Regions from separate parts of the Homo sapiens genome. Here region 2 is linked to region 1. Evidence: promoter capture Hi-C in 16 types of primary human blood cells and fetal thymus (Javierre and others, 2016). All regions are on one chromosome and are shown on one strand. The core of a region is centred on a gene start or on the middle of the fragment in contact, and the rest is flanking DNA. Distances in the headings are between cores, read along the strand shown. Region 1 holds the start of GJB6 (gap junction protein beta 6). Region 2 has its middle 89 kb from the start of MIR4499.

Evidence for each region. Contacts are between HindIII fragments. The CHiCAGO score rates a contact against its expected background, and 5 or more counts as called.
Region 2: a fragment that was not itself captured here is called in contact with the fragment with the promoter of GJB6 in region 1 in 1 of 17 cell types (M0 macrophages); the score reaches 5.9 in M0 macrophages.

What each region holds. Positions count from the first base shown.
Region 1 is chr13:20,231,040-20,236,111 of GRCh38, forward strand. It overlaps GJB6 (gap junction protein beta 6), which reads right to left and starts at 1,280. Exons shown (of 5, transcript NM_001110219.3): 1 at 1,155-1,280; 2 at 343-466. The HindIII fragment of the contact is 2,257 bases long and covers 685-2,941 here.
Region 2 is chr13:20,342,706-20,347,364 of GRCh38, forward strand. No RefSeq gene overlaps it. Among named protein-coding and RNA genes, the nearest start is that of MIR4499, 89 kb to the right of the region's middle. The HindIII fragment of the contact is 2,978 bases long and covers 142-3,119 here.

The DNA.
Region 1 (5,072 bases), core at 30-2,529:
AGCAACACCCCCAAAGACGCTGCTGGATCCAAACAACAGACAAAGCTCTCCACAGGAGCAGTTCTGAGCAGCACCCTGCAATTCTAAGGAGACTGCATGGGGGCAGGACATTTTCTTCTAGAACACTGGTTAGATTCTGCTAGAACTGGGGCAAGAAAATAGCTGTATGGCATAAAGTCTACTTGAGGGAAAAGAACAACCCGGCACGGTTACGTTCAATCAGACACTAAACAGAGTGCACGCCCACCCAGGGGACACTGAGGTCGCTGGGCCAGTGTCCCCGCCTGGTTGCAGGTCCCTAACCCCTCCGGGAGTGCAGAGCTGCGGGCAGGCCACACTCACCCTGACCCTTCCTGCTCCCCAGGAAGGGAGGTCAGCCCCGTTTGCAAAACACAGGATGCCCGTGACACCGGAGACAGGTCTTCTTCACCGACAGGAAGTGCCTTCTGGTGCCTGCACGTTTTAACTAAGATGTGTCGCCAATTACTTTTAATTACTGTCGTCCACGCTATTGTCATCAGCATTTCACAAGTTTCTCGGAAGCCCATCACGCAGCCCATACCCTGCGGTTCTCCGGGGACTTATGCATCGGCCCAAGTTGAGGGTTTGTCTGAACTGAAACCCGCATCCTAGACCTGGCTTTCTTCTCCCCAAATCCAAGGGGACACCCCGGTGACCCACAAAAGCTTAGAAAATCCAACACGCAGCAAATGAAACGGGGGAAAGGGGCACCGGCCCTCACTCTGGCCTCTTAGACACACGATATGAAACCTTCATAAAACCTGTTGTACAAGTCAAAGGGGACCACGCTGGGGTAAAAGTCAAACCAGTCCATCCTCGTTCCTCTGCGTACAGAGAGAGGGTCCAGCGCGGGCGGCGCCCACTGCCATCGGGCCGGGGCCGGGGCGCGTGGACAGGAGGGTGCGGATAGAGGCAGATCGGGGGCCCGGTCGCCCCACGTGCGGCCAGACACCCATCCCGGCCGCGCTCTGCCGGCTCTGATCCGGTGCCAGACAGGAGCGACAGGGGCGAGGTGGGGACCAGCCGCCGACCTCACCTGTTTTGTTTTCTTGGAGGAAATTCCTCCGCTGGGGGGCCGAGGTGGCACCGCCCGCTCGCCCCCCGCAAGACCCAGCCGGTCCGCGCCCGCTTACCTGCTCTGCGGCCGGCGGCCCTGGCGCGGGCTCTGCGCGGGGCGGCGCCCTTCGCTCCGGCTGGGCAGGCAGGTCGGGCTCGGGCGCCGCCGGCTGTCGGGCTCTCGTCGGGTTTCGGGTGAAGGCCCCGGCTCCCACCTGCTGCGCCTTTTAACCGCGCCCCACCCCGCCTCTGCCCTGACGCGGCTCGGGCGGGCTGCGGGAGGCGAGCGCTGTCACTCGACGAGCCCCCCGCCCCCACCTACCCGGGGCGCACTAGCCGCTGGGCGCGGACCGTCCCCCTGAGGAGCAAGGAGTGCAGGACCGGGGCTGTCCCTCCGGGGCCGGATGCGCAGAGCGGGGACCTTTTTCCCGTGGCGGGGGCGCAGGGTGGGGGACCCCTAAGAAGTGCACAGTGCGCGGGGCCCTCTTTCCGGCCCTTGGAGGGAACGGGGTACCGGGGATGCAGGGGGTAGGGCTCTCCCTCGGGAGCGCAGAGGGCGGGCCCAGCCCCCTCTGCACGGGTGCAGGTGTGGGGCGCCTGCTCAGGCCCTCGAGGGAACTCTTCCTCCCTAGTGCACCCGTGGGGAGCAGTGTGAGGGGCAGGCTGTGTTTTTGCCAGGACACATCCTCAGTCTTTCTGGGTGATCCAGCCTTCTCATAGCCCGCGGGGTGCACAGACCTCTCCTATAGGAGCCTGGAGGTTCTTTATTAATTAATGACCACTTAGAGGAGGTACAGGGGTTGTTTTTATTAATTACCTCCATCCTTTGAAGACTCCTCCGGGGAAGCGGAGCAGGCCTTCCTCGGGACAGTGCACCAGGAGAGACCACATTGCCTCCCCGCTTTTCAGTCAAGACTAGAAAGCTCAGGGCCAGTACAGGGAGTGGTGCAAGGGCTGGTGGGGTGGAAACGTTGGAAGCTATTTAGGCACCTGGCTTTACAGGTTCAAACCTGTCACGCATCGGACAAAAGATGTGTGACTTGCTTATTCTACAAAACTGTTCGGTAATTAAACGTCCCCACCTAAACCATATGCCACTTGTTGGGTCATATTCTCCCACGAAACAATTAAGATGTCTGTTAAAGGTCATGGAATTTGAGCCAAGACTTCATAAAAATCCGCTTTCCAAAATATTTTATTTGAGGAGAACAAGGTTCTTAAAGAATTTGCCCAAGTCAAGTTTTAAAAACTTTGGGGAGGCCCCTGAAATGGCCTTGAACTTGGAGAGTGGAGAGACACAGAAATCTCTAGGCTTTTTAAATTTATTTATTTATTTATTTATTTATTTATTTATTTATTTATTTTGACTAAGTCTGGCTCTGTTGCCCAGGCTGGAGTGTGGTGGTGTGATCTCAGCTCATTGCAACCTCTGCCTCCCGGGTTCAAGTGATTCTCCTGCCTCAGCTTCCCGAGTCGCTGGGATTACAGGCCCGCACCACCATGCCTGGCTAGGTTTTGTATTTTTAGTAGAGCTGGGTTTCACCATGTTGGCCAGGCTGGTCTGGAGCTCCTGACCTCAGGTGATCCACCTGCCTCAGCCTCCCAAAGTGCTGGGATTACAGGCGTGAGCCACCGCGCCGAGCATCTCTAGGCTTTTTTGTTAGACATCCTCACACTGCCCAGATGTGCCCTATGCGGTAAATCTTGGGTGCTCTGTCCTGCCCCACACAATCTAACTGTGGACTTCCCAGTCTTCTCTCCATTCCTCTCCCAAACAGATGCTTCAGCCAGGCTCAGCTGTTTGCATAGTAAAATAATTTTTCTAAGCAGATTGTAAACTTCTTTGGGGATTATAAACAGTTTAAGCTTTTCTTCCTCTTCTTCTTCTTTTGCATTTCTACAATACTAAGTACTTTGCTCATAGTATGTGCTGCTCCATGAGTATTTGAATATTGCTTGGCAAAGCTGAACCAGCATAGCAGATAGTCCTGGAAATAGCTTTTGCTTTTTCTAAAGCATGCCCTGTTCTCAATCCTGCACCTGATTCCATGCAGTACTGTGTCTGAGCATTGACATCCTGGACCAGTGGAAATTGTTCTAGGACTGGTGCAGGATAGAACTTTCAAACCAAAGTTGTCACAGAGAATGTGTTGCATTTGCTCATGTGTGCAAAAATGAAACCATCTCATCACTGTGTAAAATATCTCTTTTTCTGTTCAGGTTATCTATATTAGTCTGCATGGCCTTAACATTGAACACTGTCCTTCAGTTTTTGCTACTCATCAGACAGTCTTGTTGCAGCAGAAATTAAATGTGGACTGTATAAAACTTAAGGACTTGATGGGATGCGCATTTGAAAACTGAAAATTAGTTGTCTTAGTCCATTTGTGTTGCTATAACAGAATACCATAGACTGGGTAACTGATAAAGAAAAGAAATTTATTTTTCAGAATTCTAGAGGCTGGGAAGTCTGATATCAAGATGCTCGCATCTGGCGAGGGTTTTCTTGCTGTGTCTTCCCATGGCAGAGGTGGAGGGGCAAAAGAATGAGAAGATAGGGAAAGAAAAGAGAGAGAGGTGGGGGTGGAGAGAGAGGAAGGGGTTCAAACTCATTGTTTTTTCAGGAACCCACTCTCAAGATAACTAACCCACTCTAGAGATCACAGCATTAATCCATTCATGAGGGCAAAGCCATCATACCTCCTCACCTCTTAAAAGTCCCTCCCATCTTTCAACACTGTTTCATTGGGGATTAAGTTTCCAACACATGGACTTTAGGGGACACATTCAAACCATAGCATTCTGTCTTAGCCCCCCAAATTCATGCCTTTCTCACATGTGAAATACATTCATTCCATCCCAATAGTCCCCAAAGGCTTAACTCTTCCAGCACCAACTGAAAAGTTCAAATCCAGAGTCCCATCTAAATCAGATAAAGCTAAGACTCCAAGGCAGGCATAGCTGGCCTGAGGCAGACTCCTTTCCAGCTGTGAACCTGTGAAATCAAAACAGGCTATCTACTCCCAAAAGACAATGGTGGGGCAGGCATAGGAGAGATATTTTCATTCCAAAAGGGAGAGAGAGGCAGGAAGAAAGGGGTAACTGGTTCCAGCTACATCTAGAACCCAACATGCATGTGTTAGGCTGTTTTTGCATTGCCACAAATAAATACCCGAGGCTGGGTAATTTATAAAGAAAAGACAGGCCGGTGTGGTGGCTCACGCCTGTAATCCCAGCACTTTGGGAGGCTGAGGCAGGAGGATTGCTTGAGCTCAGGAGTTTAAGACCATCCTGGGCAATATAGTGAGACCTCATCTCTACTAAAAAAAAAAAAAAAAAAAAAAATTAGCTGGGTGTGATGGTGTGTGCCTGTAGTCCCTGTTACTCAGGAGGCTGAGGCAGGAGGATCACTTGAGCCTGGGTGATGGAGGCTGCAGTGAGCTATGATCTTGCCACTGTGCTCCAGCCTGAGCAACACAGTGAGACCGGTCTCAAAAAAAGAAAAGAAAAGAAATTTAATTCACTCATGGTTCTGCAGACAGTGCAAGAAACATGGTGCTAGCATCTGCTTCTGGTGAGGGCCTCAGCAAGTTTCCAATCACGTTGGAAGGACAAGGGAGAGCAAATGTCTCACATGGTGAGAGTGCGAGCAAGAGAAAAAGCAGGGAGGTGCCCTATACTTTTAAATAACCAGATCGCAAGTGAACTCATTGGTCACCAAGGGGATGGCACTAAGCCATTCATTAGGGATCCACCCCCATGATTCAAACACCTCCCACTAGGCCTCGCCTCCAACATTGGAGATTACACTTCAACATGAGATTTGGAGGGGACAAATACCCAAACTATATCAATGGAAAAAAAACATTAAGTCTTAAAACTGGTGAATAATCTCCTCTGACTCCCTGTCCTGCGATCTGGGCACACTGGAGTGGGGCTTGGACCCCTCAAGACCTCAGGCAGCCCCTCCCCTATGGCTTTGCTGGGATCAGTCC
Region 2 (4,659 bases), core at 381-2,880, 110 kb after region 1:
ACTTGCATTGCTGGACTGAGTCATCTCTAAATCCTTTTCATTTTATGAACCTATAACCAAGAAGGGTTCTTGGATCAGGCAAAACTTAATTTTAGAATGAACTTGGGTAGCTCTGTGCAATTTCTGTGTTTTATGTCAGAAAGCTTTTTTTCCTGTGATCCTGGGACACAAGAAATAAGAAATTAAAGAACTGTATGTTGGGTGTAACCAACATTAGTTTATGGGTTGAGAAATAAATCTCTCTGGAAGTTCTCCTAGCATCTCTAGGAAGATTACTTAGTGCAATATTATTTCTCCCATTTTGTAGAGAGAGGATTTGAGTCATAACAGGTAGAATTATCTGCCTTAGGTCATTTGTAGGGCTAGACATATAATTTAGGTTACTTAACTCGCTTGTGTTTTCTTTCCCAGCAAAAGGAGCCACGGCTCATCCAGTGCATTTCTGAGGTCAGCCTTCACGCCTCGCCCTGTCCGTCCTCCTCACTCTCCCTGTGGGCCTCCATCCTGGCCGAGGTCGTGGATGTGCTGTCACTGGCAAACATTCATGGTAACCTGGCCCCCAGGAAGGGCTTAGTTTAGTCCATGTCACCACCCCATGACTCTCACCCCATTGAAACTTGTTTCCATTTAGAAGCATTAGCTGATCTAACCCAGCAACCTCCTAACTCCATGTTCCTTCATGCAGCCATCCTGGTGAAACAGGCAACTTGTGAGCAAATGTCTATTAAATGGGCTAAGTTCCATTTCCCCGGCCACTTTACATGTGAAACTGATGCTGTGGTCCCTGGGGAGTGATTTGTCACCCAGAACAGTCACCCTCTAAAATGTGCAAATGCTGGTCAGGTGCAGTGGCTCCCACCTGTAATCCTAGCATTCTGGGAGGCCAAGGTGGGTGGATTGCATGAGGCCAGGAGTTTGAGACCAGCCAGGACAACGTGGTGAAACCCCATCTCTACTAAAAATACAAAAATTAGCTAGGCATGGTGGCGCACAGCTGTATTCCCAGCCACTGTGAGAGGTGAAGCCAGCTGGACTTCCTGGGTCGAGAGGGGACTTGGAGAACTTTTCTGTCTTACAAGAGGATTGTAAAACACACCAGTCAGCGCTCTGTAGCTAGCAAGAGGTTTGTAAAATGCACCAATAAGCACTCTGTAAAAATGCACCAATCAGTGCTCTGTAGCTAGCAAGCGGTCTGTAAAATGCACCAATCAGCACTCTTTAAAATGGCCCAAACAGCACTCTGTAAAATGGACCAATCAGCACTCTGTAAAATGGACCAATCAGTGGGACTCTAAAAGTAACCACTCGTGGGGGATTGGGAAAAGGGCATTCTGATAGGACAGAAACAGGACATGGGAGGGGACAAATAAAGGAATAAAAGCTGGCCACCCCAGCCAGCAGTGACAACCCGCTCAGGTCCCCTTCTCCGCTGTGTGACGTTTGTTCTTTTGCTCTTTACAATAAATCTTGCTCCAGCTGGCTCTTTGGTTCCGTGCCATCTTTAAGCACTGTAACACTCACCGGGAAGGTCCGTGGCTCCATTTTGAAGTCAGCGAGGCCAGGAACCCTCCACGAACCCACTGGCAGGAACTAACCCTGGACACAACTGGAGAGGCTGAGGCACGAGAATCACTTGAACCCAGGAGGCAGAGGTTGCAGTGAGCTGAGATGGTGCCACTGCACTCCAGCCTGGGTAACAGAACGTTACACTCTCTCCAAAAAAAAAAAGGCGGGGGCCAAAGGCCCGAAGATAACAACCCTAGAAGCTGCAATGCCACACAGAGGTAAGGATGCAGGCCTGGAGTTGGATCTGGACTTCAGCCGTGTTTTTGCTGTTTATTGGCCTTATGACTTGGTTTCCTTGTGAGTAAAATGGGTACAATAAGGATGGTTGCAAGGAATAAAGGACAGAAGGCTCAGAAAGTACTTGTTATAATGCCTGTGCTATTATAGGGAGCCAAGAAGTATTTGTTTTCTCCCCCATTAAGAAAAAATGGCACAAAATAAAAACGTCACAATGTCATAAACCAAAACTTCCCAAGGTTAAAAATACTGGAGCACTCATGTTTTGTGTTTGTGTGTGTGTGTAAATTGTTTAGCATCACACAGAGGCCTCCAGAGTCCTTCAGAGCTGGTCAAGAAACTGGGTGACAGGGCCCAAAGGGAACTGTCACTGAGGAAAAGCCTTTTTAATAAACCACCCTAAATCCAAATCAGTATGTTAAACAAGAGGTAAACAGTGTTAAGCCAGGAGTGGTGCTAGAAATTCTTTTAATTGTTTAAACGCTCCACTTAGATGTAATTAATGGAAAGCAGGAAATGTCGCAACCTGAACAGGGAGACAGGATCCTGCTCTTGCCTGGGACGGACATCTGAGCCCGGTGCAGAGAAAAGTTCTGAAGAGTCCGGCGGCCCTTCTGCTGCGCTCCTACCTGTCCCGGGACAGGGATGAGGGCCAGCTGTCCTAAGAGGTGGTCTAGGTGGCCTGAGCAGTGTGACCCCTGGGATGAGGGGGTGAATATGGCAGCCCAGGGCCCCTGTCTGAGGACTGGCAATAGGAAGCCCAGAGCTCCTGGCTGAGGCCAAGCCCCTGTGAGGGTGGATGGAAAGAATCCGGGCCAGGAGGAGAGTGGTCCAGGCCAGGCTGCACCCCTGACTCATGGTCACCTTATGGCTCTGCTGTTTCCTCCTCTGTAACAGGAAGGCTTGGGATTAGGTGGACTTTAAGAATGCTCTGCATGAAGATTTTGTGGGGTTTCCATAGCCGCCAACCTTCCCAGTGACCAAGTTTTGTAGAGAGAATCGGGGGGTCCTCTGTGTCCCTGCCAGTGGCCTCTGCCCTCATTTTTGCAGAGGAGTCCAGATCTGTTCTACTTTAGCCCTCATCTGACAGGGCAGCAGCAGATTCATCTCATCAGTTAGAACATGCCCTATCCTGAACTCTCTCTCGTGAGCGTGGTGGGGGCAGGCGGGGTGGTCACAAAAGTAATTTTGGTGCAAAAGGAATTGCAGTTTTTGCCATCAAAAGTAATGGCAAAAGCCTCAATTAAGTAAGTGCTTCAACCTAATACCTCTTTTGAAGATGAAAAACTGAGGCTTGGAGTTTTTCCAATTATACAAGCTTTGCATTTAATGAGTTCTCAATAACAGTTGACCTTCTAACTGAAAGAAATGGAACTCTGCAGGTGAACAGACAAAAATCATGTCTTCGTCGAAATGTATTGGAGGAGCTGAAGAAAGGCTGCCATGAATGATCATGCCTGCTAGGCTGCTCTAAGCAGCTGCAGTCACAACTTGATGCTGAAAATTAGGTTGGTGTGCTCTGGAGAGCAATTTGATATGTGTATCAAGAGCCTTAAGCCTTTGACTTGGTAATTCCACTTTCTGAATCTACCATAGGAAATAATGGAACTTCTGACAGATTTCATAGAAAGCTCATTGCGGTAGCATTGTTTTCTAGGGTACATCAGCAGATCCCATCAGAAGGACCCTGTGCCCTGAATCCTGAGAGGTCTGAGAGGACCAAGCGCCCCAGTGCCCTGGTCTTTGCCTACAACCTCAGGGAGAAGGGGACTCACAGTGACACCAGACAGGCCCTGAACCCTGGGGGAGGAAGCTCTAGGGCCTCAGTGACCTTCCTGCCTCTACTGCCCTCGGCAATAGACAACTATCAGGACAGAGAATGCTTTAACTGATCAGATGAATCTGCTGCTGCCTTGTCAGATGGGGGCTAAAATAGAAATAAGTGTGATAAGAAAAGGAAAGTTCTATTTCTCACTTTCCTAAGCTGTAGACTGCAATTCACATTGCTACGCTTGAGATATGATGTTGCATGGAAAAAGAAAAGCCTGAGAACTTAACGTGATATGAGTTCAATGTGTAAACAACATACACATACATACTTAGGACAAAGATGGAAGAAAATTCATTTTTTCATTCAACATGTATTTGTTCCACATGTACCAGAATGTTGCCTGCAGTTATCACTGGTGGCAGGATTATGTGAGACTTATTATCTTTTCTTATCTTTATCTTTTTAATATTTTCTAACCTGAAGATATATTACTTATGTAATTACAAAAAATTCAAATCGTTTAAACATTTTAGTAATGTTAGTTTTTTCTCAGCTATGTGTGGTTGATTTCTTAAACCCATATAAAATTTGTTTTATGAGAGACAGAATGTATCTTATTTTTCTCAAATATTTTCATGTAGAAAACTTACATAAAACAAGACCAAATGCCAGAGGTTTCAAACTTCTAATCATATTTGTGGTGCTAATGTGGGGCTATACTTCTAATCATATTTGTGGGGCTGATGGATACCGAAAGTAATAATTACATTATTTCAAATACACTGTTATTCCTTTGTTGACATGGGTCATTACAGCCTGAAAGTTGGTGTCCCTCCAAAATTCATATGTTGGTATGTAAACCCCAAAGTTATGGTATTAAGAGATGAAGCTTTTGGAAGGTAATTAGGTCATAAGGGCTCTGCCCCCATGGATGAGTTTAACTCCCTTTAAAAAGGGCTTTTCTTCTGCCCTTTTTCTTCTGCCATGCGAGGACACAGTGAGAAGGTGCCTGCATATTGGAAGGAGAGAGGAGCCCTCACTAAACACCAATCTGTGAGCACCTTGATGTTAGACCTCCCAGCCTC